3 separate regions of the Homo sapiens genome follow, and all the other regions are linked to region 2. The links are contacts of gene promoters, found by promoter capture Hi-C in human tissues and cell types (Jung and others, 2019). All regions are on one chromosome and are shown on one strand. The core of a region is centred on a gene start or on the middle of the fragment in contact, and the rest is flanking DNA. Distances in the headings are between cores, read along the strand shown. Region 1 overlaps SACM1L (SAC1 like phosphatidylinositide phosphatase). Region 2 holds the start of CXCR6 (C-X-C motif chemokine receptor 6). Region 3 overlaps SACM1L (SAC1 like phosphatidylinositide phosphatase).

Region 1 (3,639 bases), core at 772-3,271, 200 kb before region 2:
CTATCTCTTACGCTAGAGGTCCAAAGCTGCCTCTGTTTTAAAGATTATCCCAATGTGGAAGATGCCCATGACTGGTCAGCTACTTCCTCCTATACATTTTGGTTTCTTTGAGGGTCACTCATTGAGACACGCAGGCCTCTGAGAGGGTCTTGTTCTAGATTTCATATTGCACTTGGAGGGTAACAGCTGCTTTTTCACGCATGGTACTCTTGATGTTTTTCACTCTGTCAAGGATTTTGTTGGCTATCAATGAATGTGTCTAAAACTTAGTGCTTCCAGGTAGTTATAGTACTCCAAATCAAGGACCAACTTAAACGTTAATTTTTGTGCAAAAACAAACCTGAAAAATATGCTTCGGAAACTGTGCATAGTTCTAATTGTAAGTCAGATTGTATATTCAAATTGTAATTAAGAGATTTAAATATTAGAACGGTATGTAAGGTAGTATAATTACCACTATTTTAAATAATTCAGTTAAACACTGCTGCAATATTTCAGTGTTGTGCTTGAAAATATGTACAGTTTTTTTCCAATATTAATACCTTATGTTGTCCTTAAATATTTCTAAAAGCGCCTTTATTTCAGCATTACCTTTTTTTCATCACTATCTTTTATAAAACATTAATATAAGTCGTTACTTTTAGAAACTAAAGGAAATAATAGCTGGAAAACCCTCTGTAGTTTAAAATCAGTCATTAAACTCACAATAGGGTAAGTAAATATAGCCACCTGTTAACATGTAAATAAGCATAATTTGTTCCAAAGATGGAATATTGAAACTTAGTTCATGTCTGCTGTAAAATATTATTTAAATGCTGCTGGGCATTTCACTTAAAGAACTTAATGTCAACAGCTACAACAAAGACCAAATCTGAACTGCTAATGTGGCTGCTTTGTAGGGAATGGACTAATATCAGTGTGTTAGATCTTAAGGTATCAGTATTTCAGAATCCTGCGACGATTTTATTTCTAAATTCATGTACTGTATGTCCATAAGTGAAAATAAAATGTCATATTCTTTTCTATTATTGGTATCATTCATGTACTTTGAAAGTGATGTTTTTCTTTTTGATCTTAGAATGCTAAAAATCATGCAAAATGATAGACGGTTTGGCTCTGTGTCCCCACCCACCCAAATCTCATCTCAAATTGTAATCCCTACGTGTTGAGGGAGGTACCTGGTGGGAGGTGGTTGGATCATGGGGGATGGTTTCCCCCATGCTGTTTTCATGAGTTTGCACGAGGTCTGATGGTTTAAAAGTGTTTGGCATTTACCCCCTTGCTCGCTCACTTTCCTGCCACCGTGTTAAGATGTGCTTTGCTTTCCCTTCACCTTCTGCCATGATGAAGTTTTGTGAGGCCTCCCCAGCCATGCGGAACTGTGAGTCAAACCTCTTTTCTTTATATGTTACCCAGTCTCAGGTAGTTCTTTACAGCAGTGTGAAGACAAATTAATACACAAAGCAATGCATGATCATCATAGAAAAATTAGAGTAAGCAAGAAAATCAGTAGCTTCTGCAATTTTGCTTTCCAGTTATGATCACTTAAGAAATTTTGTATCTCCTTATAGTTTTTATTTTTAGTTATAGAGAAACCCAGGGAAATATTTAGTAAAGTGTAATGTCCATAAAAAGGTGTCCCCCACCTTCAAATTGTAATTTGTTTTTCAAAATGTTATGAATCCCAGCTGATGTGGGAAAATATTGCTTATTAGAAAATGACACCTCCACAGGAAGGTGTCAGCATGAGGGAAATAGTGATGGAAACACATTGGTACCTAGTGATGGCAGCAGTGGGCCGTCTGGAGTGGCTGCTGCCATTGTGCCGGCCGTAGCAGGGAGGTGTGAGTGGTGGCTGCAGGAGCAGCCGTGGTGATGGTGAGACCCCTGTGCCCCACGTTCCCTGTGCCCCGTGTCCCTGTGGCAGCCGACTGCGCCGCCCCCACCCCTGTGTGGCCGAGTGGGGCCTGCCTCCAGGCCTGGAGCCACCACTGCTCTGGACCCTGGTCCGCGTTACCACCACTGTTGCTTGCTGTTGCCAGGAGGGCGGAGAGTCCCTGGAGCCTGCTGCAGGGATACCCCTGGAGCCTGTCTCCCGGGGGGCCGCCGCAATGTGGCCAGGTTGAGTTGCCTGCCGGCGGGGGAGCAGCGTGATTGTGCATGGAGGACCAGGCAGAGAAGGGCCACAGGCGGAGCTGGGCCCGGGGTGGTGCCATGCTTGCACATGGAGCACGGGGGCCGCGCCTGGGGTGCGGAGCTGGGGCTGTCCTTTGGGGGCCTGGAGTGGGAAGTGGGAGCGGTGCTCACTTTGGGGACACAGCCAGTGGCACGGCCACCGCACCCTTCCTGCTGACTGGCGCCGGATTCCTGCGCCTTGGGAGGAGGCTCTGCGCAGGATTTCCCAGGGCCGGATCCCCAGGGTCTGCCTCATAGCGGGGTGACCTCTGAGCCTGATGCTCCCTAGGACCAGGCCCAGGGCCTGCAATCCGCTCCTGGAGGCACTCCTGCTGGGCAGGGCTGTGAGCCAGGCAAGGGAGAGCCCTAGGCCACCCCTGAGCACTGGGACCACAGGAAGAACTTGTGGTGACGTCACTCTTGCCTCAGATGCCAGCATGGGCCCAGCAAGGAACCTGAACCCCTACCCCAGACTGCGAGGAGGCATGGCCAGAGCCGCCTGCACGTCCATGGAGCAGGTGGGAGACTCGCCTTCCCAGGCACAGGACCTGGGTATCCGCACTGTGCACCCTCGGGAGCCAGATCTCAGAGTGGGGTTGGAGCCGAAGCTGGGCATTGTCACAGCTCAGCAGGGTGTGTGCACACTTGGGGCAGCACTGAAAAGCCAGCCTCCTGCCACGTCGGCCCCCTCTGGACTTTGGGCACCAACAAGCACTGGTGGAGGGGAGGGGAAACTGAGGGGGAGGCTAAGGGTGTCTCGGTGCTGACCTGCAGGTGCCCCTTGGTCAAGCAGTCTGGGCACCATGGATGGCTGCAGGAGGCAGACAGGCTCCTGGGCAGAAAGGGGCGGGTCCCTGGTGAGGCCCCACCTTCAGGCCACGGACGGCCTGGAAGCTGGGGGCTGGGCTGCCAGTTCTGTGGACCTGACTGGAATGGGAACTTGTGCCTTTTCTGGTCCCACCTATGGCTGCCCACGGACCAATTGGCATATTCAGTTTCTCCCTCCTGAGGCCCAGAAAGGCCCTGGGCTCAGCCAAAGCAGAGCAGAGACAATGGGACAACCAGCTGCAGAGAAGAGCTACCCTCTCTGCTGATAGCTGAACACTTGGGATGACCTGCCTGGAGAGAGCAGCTACCCTCTCTGCTAGGAGCTGAACACTTATCGGAACACCCTGGCTGCGGAAAGGAGGTACTCCCTGCAGGTCTCCTCTGAGCTGTTCTATCACTCGATAAAGCTCCTCTTCATCTTGCTCATCCTCCACTTGTCCACATACTTCATTCTTCCTGGCCACAGGACAAGAACTCAGGACCCGCCAAATGGTGAGGCTAAAAGAGCTATAACAAACAGGGCTGAAATGCCCCTTGCTCACCACATTGTGCGCGAAGGAGAGAAGACCTGCAGCCCTTCAGGGAACCCAGACCTGGGAGTTCCCTGAGTCAGGGCTGTGACTCCCTCTTTGGGGT
Region 2 (3,711 bases), core at 1,031-3,530:
GGTTAGGCTACTTTTCTGTGGATCACAGCCCATCATCCACCAATGCCTTGCCAACAACTGTAAATGTCTCATCCCTGAATCCTGGAACTGATAACAGCTCTGCCAGGTCTTCAGGTAAGGAGAGCAGGCCAACAGTCTGACTTCCAAGATAAATCTGCAGCAGGTATGTCTGCCACTTCCTTTTTACTCTTCCCTCAATTTTATTTAGAAAATGTTTAGGTATTTCTGGGGAAATCTAAGACATATATGATTGGGTTCCCACCCTTAGGAAGTTCAAAGTTTTGTTTCAAATAAAAGTAATGCCCTTAAAACAATTAACACTATAAATTGGCAGATAGTAAACGGCATTTTGTAAAGTGATTAAAATAAAATTTTAGCCCCAAACCTGCAAGTGGCTCAGCTCCTCAAATTTAGGTGAAAGTCTTTTGTACTATAGAGAAGTTTCTATTAAAGAATGGCCACGATAAACAAGCCATGCTTTCTCAAATACACATATCCCCATATTGACATGTACACACAGTCATGGAGGGCCCCAGGTGCTGGCTTGTTTTTCCCCATGGAGTAGAAAGGCTTGCTGAGAAAAGCATGGCCAAGGGTGCTTGACAAGGCTCAGGCCATTCTAACACTGCCCTATGGACCTGTCTTGAATGGCATGGTTGGTTGTCCCTGGGTAAAACTCAGCTCTCAAAGCTTAAAGATTCCTAAATGTCAGGCAGGGTTACATTAAATTGCCACCCTGCCTTGAAAGTTCTCTTTCAGGAAGACAGGTGCATATTTGGCTCAGTCTGTTCCTTTATTCATTTGTCCACCATTCCCTACATCCATCTGTCCATCGGTATGTAGTCTATGCGGCCTCATGGTTCATGCCCATAAGGAACACCTCACTCATTTGTACCAGTTTGGTAGAAAGGACAGTCTGAACGAATTCATTCAAAAAGGCCTGCAAACCTACTAGAGGTCTTCAGATCTTTTATCAGGGCCCCCTGGCACAGCTCCATACTCAGAGCAGGGCAGGAAGCACTGGCTTTGCAGCCTGACAGTCCTGGGTGACTGCCAGGGATGTGTGTTCTTGGGCAAGTGGGCTAATCTCTCTAATCTTCTGTTTGCCTATCTGTACGTGACTAGGATTAGATGGCTGTACATAGAAGCATCCAGCATAGGGCCAGGCTTGCGGTAGAAATGAGTGTTAGTCTCTGGATCCTGAGGCTGCTCCTGGTCCCTGCTCCCAATGCTTGACATTTGCCCTTAGGAAGAGCCACATGAGAAGGTTTGCCTAGCAGGTGGGAGAGAGCAACAGCATTGGAGAGAAGCAGCCTGAATGGGAGTGCAGAGCCAGAGAAGGCAGGCCAGGCACCTCCACAAGAAGGCAGCTGCTTCTGGGAAAGCAGACATCGAGTCCATGCCTCTCCCTAGTACCCTCTCCACTACAAGGCACTGGGGCATGTGACCCAGGCTGACATGCCTCCAATTCCTGCCTTCCAGCGTTATTTCCCAGAAGGGTCAGTAATGTTAGATCATGGAGACTGACAACTAGAACTGTACTGAGATCAAAGTAGTCAACATCTGGGGAATTCCAGGAGTACAGAGGGCAGCCCAAGGAAACCAGATGATTCCAGCCAGCCTACGCAGGGTGGGTGGGCACTGCCTGCTGAGTGCCTGAGTGGTGTGGGCTTAGGAGGTGGGGCTGCACCAGGCCCTCTGGCAGACCCATCATCATGCTGTTGATTGGTCTGGTAATGACAGATACCTGAGTGTGTATCTTCGATTTTCCAGTTTCTAGCTGTGTGCACCAGGGCTTGTTATTTTGGCTATGGTCCTCAGTGTTCTCATCTATAAAGGCAGGATAATATCCACTGCAGGGCTGCTATGGGGCTTAACAGCTATCACATATGCTGGAGCTGCATATGCACGCAGAACCCAGCCCATACCATGGACTCAGCATTGGCCCAGACCCTAACTGTTCCAAAAAGATGTCTGACTAGTGAATTAAGTAATTTTAAGGTACAAATGCCACCATCTTCGGTGGATGGCCAGAGCCAAACCTCCTTATTGTTCCCCTTTAGTTTACGAATAAAGCTCGTCAGGCCCTGACAGAAGAATCAGCCCCAAAGCAGAATGAAGGGAGTGTGGGGTATCAGTCACCCATCCATCTCTGACCCACGCGTTACACAGGGGCGGGTTGGTCATATGGATTCTGATCTGAAGGACGGGAGTAGGGGGTGGGTCTCTTATAGTAACCAGCTGAGGGCTCTTAAAAAATGTTCAGCGGAAACATGAACCACATCACAGAAGTAGAGGCAGACCTTGCTTCATGAGCAAGCTCATCTCTGGAACAAACTGGCAAAGCATCTCTGCTGGTGAGTCATTTGTTTTACTCTTTATATTGAAAAGAAGACAGGGAGGACTAACCCCAGGTATTGTTGGTATTCTCAGATTCCTGTCTGTAGTAGGGTACAGTGCAAAATGCCAGGCTATGGAGCTCAGCTGCTCTTCGTTCAAATTCCATCACTGCCATTTGCTGCTGTGTGGGTTAAACTGGAGAAACATGAAAACTACTGAACATGTTTCCAGGCACACAGTTAGTGCTTGCAGGCTGATGGTACTGCTAGTAATGGCATAGTCAGACCCACCCAGGGAGATAAGGAGAATCTAGTTATTGTCTATATTTGCTCAATGAATAATCTCTGTTTTCATTTCTTTTGCATAAGACAGGCTGTTTTATCAGATTATCATTTATGTTCTTTTTTCAATATAAATCAACATACTACTGTAGAAACTTTGAAAACTATTTTAAAAAAAGGAAGAAATAAGTCACCCATAATTCCACCAGCTGGAGGCCAACTGTTAATAAAATGTGATCATTTTTTCCAGGTTTCTAAAAGTACGGTCAGTTAAAATCACATAGTTTATCATGAACTCTTATGTGAGGGCCCACAGAATACATGGCAGAAGGATTCAAGGGGTTCATGGACTCCCAGAATTGTAGGGGTGTTTGTGTGTGTGCGTGTGTGTCTGTGTGTGTGTGTGTGTGTGTATATATATATACATTATTTCTGAGAAAAGGTCTGCAGTTTTTAGGAGATTCTCAAAGGAGTTTATGGTCAAAAAAGGTTAAGAATCACAATTTTATATCCTTTTGACATCTATTTGTTGTAATAGTAATAGTTAATACTTATTTTGCATATTTACTTTGTGTTTACACTGTTCTTAGCAATTTAACTGTATTGCATTTTCCAAAATCAGTAAAAATACTTCCTAAACATTTAAGTATATTCTATTTTATGTATGAATTGTAATTTGCTTCATCATTATCAGACTTTTACACTACTTCCAAAGTTGTAGATTTTTTTTTTAATTTTCAGAAAACAAAATAGGATTTTAATTATAGAGGATAAAGAAATGAATGTTTTTAGTTCGCCTAGAAGGGAAAGTAATTTTTCATACTCTATTTGCACAGCACTGTCCAGGCCCAATCTGTTTACCAATTATTATACATCAAAGTTTACCAATTATTACACATGAATTTGCACAGGTCCTTTGAGGAAATGTGTAATGGCAGCATAAGGGACCAGCAAAAGCTGGAACAGGAAGATACCAAAAAAAGGCGAGAGCGAGTCAAGCAATAATGGGGAGCTGAACATTATTCTTAAGAGCAAAGCCACCTGTTTCATATTTTAAATGATGAAAAAATATGTTTTTGCCCATGTGAAT
Region 3 (3,691 bases), core at 514-3,013, 240 kb before region 2:
TAGTGGGTTTAAAAAAAATGGCTTAAGACTAGATGTCTCGAATTTCTTTATATTTCTTTGGTTTTAGGACCTTTCACTTTGTTTTCTTTTTATAGCTTTATTGAAGTTTGATTGACATACAATAAACTACACACATGGAAAAGGGAAGTGTACAGTTTGATAAATTTTGACATTTTTACACCCATGAAACCATTGCCAGTATTACAATATTGAACGTATCCGTCACCCTGAAACGTTTCCTCGTGCCTGTAATCCCTCCTTTTTCTCCCTTCCTGCACAAGTTAAACATATATGTGCCATATGATCCAGCTGTTCCACTTCTAGGGAGTTAACCAAGAGAAGTGAACATCTGCCTTAAGACTTTTATACAAGAATGTTCCTAGAACCGTTCCTTTATTCATAGTAACCCAAAACCAAAGTTACCAAATAGCCATCAACAAATGAATGGATCAACAAATTATGATATATCCGTACAATGGAATGCTATTCAGTAATAAAAAGGAATGAATTGTTGTGTTCAGGTTAAATTGAAGATTGCTGTATTTGAAGCAGATTTGCTTTCTTTGTTGTATTGATTTTCCTTTACTTAGCATATCCCCCCAAATGAAGGAAACTAGCCTAATATTTAGTTAGTTACAGATGAACCATAGAAGGTTGTAAGTTATATTTGGGTAATTAAGGATTGATTATTCCTCAGAGAACTTGCAGTAAAAAAGAGTCAAAAGTTTGTTTTGCTGCAGGACATTTTTCTATAATGCCAAATAGCTTATACACAATTGGTAAATAGAAAATGATGTCCATGATGGTTGTGTGGGTTTGAATGAGATTTTTCATAGGCAAGTGGGAGTAGAATTAAAAAGGAAAAGAAAAAGCCCTCAGATTGGCTGCTGCACAGATAGAACAGATAGAAATTCTTTTAAGTCTGGTTTGTGAACAATAAAGATTAGTTTCTGGAAAAAGAAATAGTTCTTGGACTCAGCCTCCCTCCCCAGCCTTGCTCAGCTTCTGGAAAGGTTGTATCTTCTCCTGTGCCTACCTTAAAACAGCAGTCTCCATCAGTGGCTTGGAGTTCTACTTCAGTCTGCATCGTTTTAGTGCCTGCAAATGAAAACGCAGTTTTACTTTATTCTGTTAATATTTTGTATATCCTGAGTCAGTCCCTCACCATGCTGAGTTGCTTGCCTGAACTATTTAAGTTGTTTCTTGAGAAACCAACTGTTATTTTTGTTAGACTCTAATTACAAAGTTGCATAAATTTTAAGTAGTCTCTCTCAACCGTGTTTCTACCTCCTTTATTTTTTATTTTCCAGAGTGAGTTTTTTTCAGGAACATATATATGGGTTTCTAAAAAAACACCCCACCTGAATGTTAAAGTAATTTGTTTTTAAAAATTTCCTGGAAATATTTTATTTAAAATGCATTTCTTACTGTTTTTAGCTAATACCTCTTGCTTACTATGCGTCAGATGTTCAAAGTACTTACCAAAGATTAGCTCATTTAATTCACACGATGCTGCGTGATGAATCTGGTATTATCGTTATTTTACAGAAAGGGAATAAGAGGATCAGAGAGAATGAGTAACTTGTCTAAGGTCACACTACTGGTAGTCTGGTTCTGTAGGCTCTGGTCCTACTATGCTACATTGCCTTCTGTACCCTGTTGAATATAATAAACTAGATTTGATTATGGCATTTTTTTGTATATGTTAAATTGATGGTTTCATAGCAAATCAAAACCTAGTCAGCATCAAATATACAAGTGAAAAGAGTTGCAGTGAACTCATAAGGACAGCAAACTTAACAGATTCATCCTTTTAGAAGCTGGGAAAATGATGTCAAATTTATACTCTGTAATTGTCATAATAAGTAGTTTTTTAGAAGTCTTCATTTCATTTGGTTAGTTATTTATGTTTTACATTTCTTCTTAGGCATATCACACCTGAAAAATTTTATGTGGAAGCTTGTGATGATGGAGCAGATGACGTACTTACCATTGACCGTGTGTCCACAGAGGTTACCCTTGCAGGTATTTTACAGCCAGATTTAGAAGTTTAGGGAGAAAGATTTTATACATAAATTACAGTAATTAAAAAACATCACTCAGAGGTGTGTCAGTGTGTGGATCTCTGAGTGCATTCTTATTAAAATTTTTATTCTTGCTACCTCATTCATAGGTTGGTGCATCAATTTTATGCTATCTCCTTTTCTGTGAAAAGGAGAAATGATCTTGAAAATTTTAGGTAGCATTTTACTGTCCGTAAGGATTTAAAAACATAATATTTATTATTTTTTTCCCTTAGCTGTATTTTAACAGGATTGGTTTAGATAGCTAAGCTTCTTTCTAGCTGTAAGATTTAAGATATTTGAGAGTGAAAAAGTTGTTTCAGCTTTAAGAGTATGGAATTTTAACAGCTACTTTTGTTTTGAAAGCTTTCATGACTATGTGGAAATTTAATAAATGAAAAATAAAATATACTTCACTGACTAAAACTTGTAGGTGTTCTTAGGCAAATGATGTTTCTAAGTTTTATCTACCTAACCAGTTATACTTTGGTTATGCTTTTCTGGGATGTGAAAAACAAACTTTTTTTTCACTTGTGTGGAACACCCTGACTTTCCAAATAGATAAATACGAAATAATTTTGGTGGCAAATTAATATACCATGTGATAACATATTTAGAATTTCATATTTCACTTGTTTAAAGATTCTATTCACCCCCAGAGTTCTATATTTATTTTTTTCTTAAAGTACAATATTTGAATAACCATAGAGTAGGCATTCAGTAAATAGCCTTTGAGTGGGTGAAGTGAAGTACGAAAATATATTCCATGAGATAATGGGGTGTAAGACAAGTATGGCTATAAAATTTCTGTTTTTTTGATTATGTGGTAATTCTGGTAGGTACTATATATAGTTTGTCTTTGATCAAATGGAATTAGAGCTCTGTTTTAGTTTGATAATTTGACATTTCCTATTTGTCTGTTGCTTGGTGGCTGCTCTCTCAAGATAGCTGACTGGTTTTAACTAGTGTTAGTACACTTCTCCTAAAGTTTAAATTATACTACTCTTTATACCATGTTGATACAACCTAGTGTCTTACAAGAGCTTTAATGTGGGTGTATTTTCAGTTATCCTTGATCTTTCAGTAATGTTTTATTTGTAGGTAGAGATTGCAGACCCATTTGAATAGACTGAAAAGCTAAAGGTCATGAATAGTTTGAATGTAAAGATGATGATGCCAAACAGTCATCAGTAAGACACATGATAAAATACTTCCACGCAAAGTCAGTACTGATGAGCGACTGACTTGCTGACAGTTTCTTAGCCAGTTTCTTTTCACCACTGCGAATGCAGACTATGTTATTCCTAATGGGATTATTTTTTCTTCCATGAAAAAACCTAACATACATTCTAGGAGTTATCACAGTTTTATTGCTGTTACACTCCAGTTTACATAACTTATAGCTCTATCAATAGTGCATTTAAGTTAAGGAATGTTGCTTTTCTTAGAACAAATCATGCAAATTGATGTAGTCAAAGTAACTATTGAAATCGAACTAAATTTCTGTTTCTGTTGGTGAGCTTTTTGTATGTGATTTTTCTTTCTTTCCTTTCTTTTAAAGTCAAGAAAGATGTTCCTCCTTCAGCTGTCACAAGACCAATATTTGGTATACTGGGCACAATCCATCT

What was found. The method cuts DNA at HindIII sites, captures the fragments that hold promoters and counts their contacts. A contact is called where the count stands out against the background at its distance.
Region 1: a contact is called between a fragment that was not itself captured here and the fragment with the promoter of CXCR6 in region 2, in 1 of the 25 tissues and cell types used here (spleen).
Region 3: a contact is called between a fragment that was not itself captured here and the fragment with the promoter of CXCR6 in region 2, in 1 of the 25 tissues and cell types used here (lymphoblastoid cells).

The regions. Positions count from the first base shown.
Region 1 is chr3:45,744,385-45,748,023 of GRCh38, forward strand. SACM1L (SAC1 like phosphatidylinositide phosphatase) reads left to right here. Exons shown (of 20, transcript NM_014016.5): 20 at 1-1,025. Among named protein-coding and RNA genes, the nearest start is that of SLC6A20, 50 kb to the right of the region's middle. The HindIII fragment of the contact is 5,647 bases long and covers 1-3,639 here.
Region 2 is chr3:45,941,184-45,944,894 of GRCh38, forward strand. CXCR6 (C-X-C motif chemokine receptor 6) reads left to right here and starts at 2,281. Exons shown (of 2, transcript NM_006564.2): 1 at 2,281-2,357. All of the region lies in intron 14 of FYCO1 (FYVE and coiled-coil domain autophagy adaptor 1), which reads right to left. The HindIII fragment of the contact is 14,146 bases long and covers 1-3,711 here.
Region 3 is chr3:45,701,511-45,705,201 of GRCh38, forward strand. It overlaps SACM1L (SAC1 like phosphatidylinositide phosphatase), which reads left to right. Exons shown (of 20, transcript NM_014016.5): 2 at 1,928-2,025; 3 at 3,625-3,691. Among named protein-coding and RNA genes, the nearest start is that of SACM1L, 14 kb to the left of the region's middle. The HindIII fragment of the contact is 3,935 bases long and covers 1-3,691 here.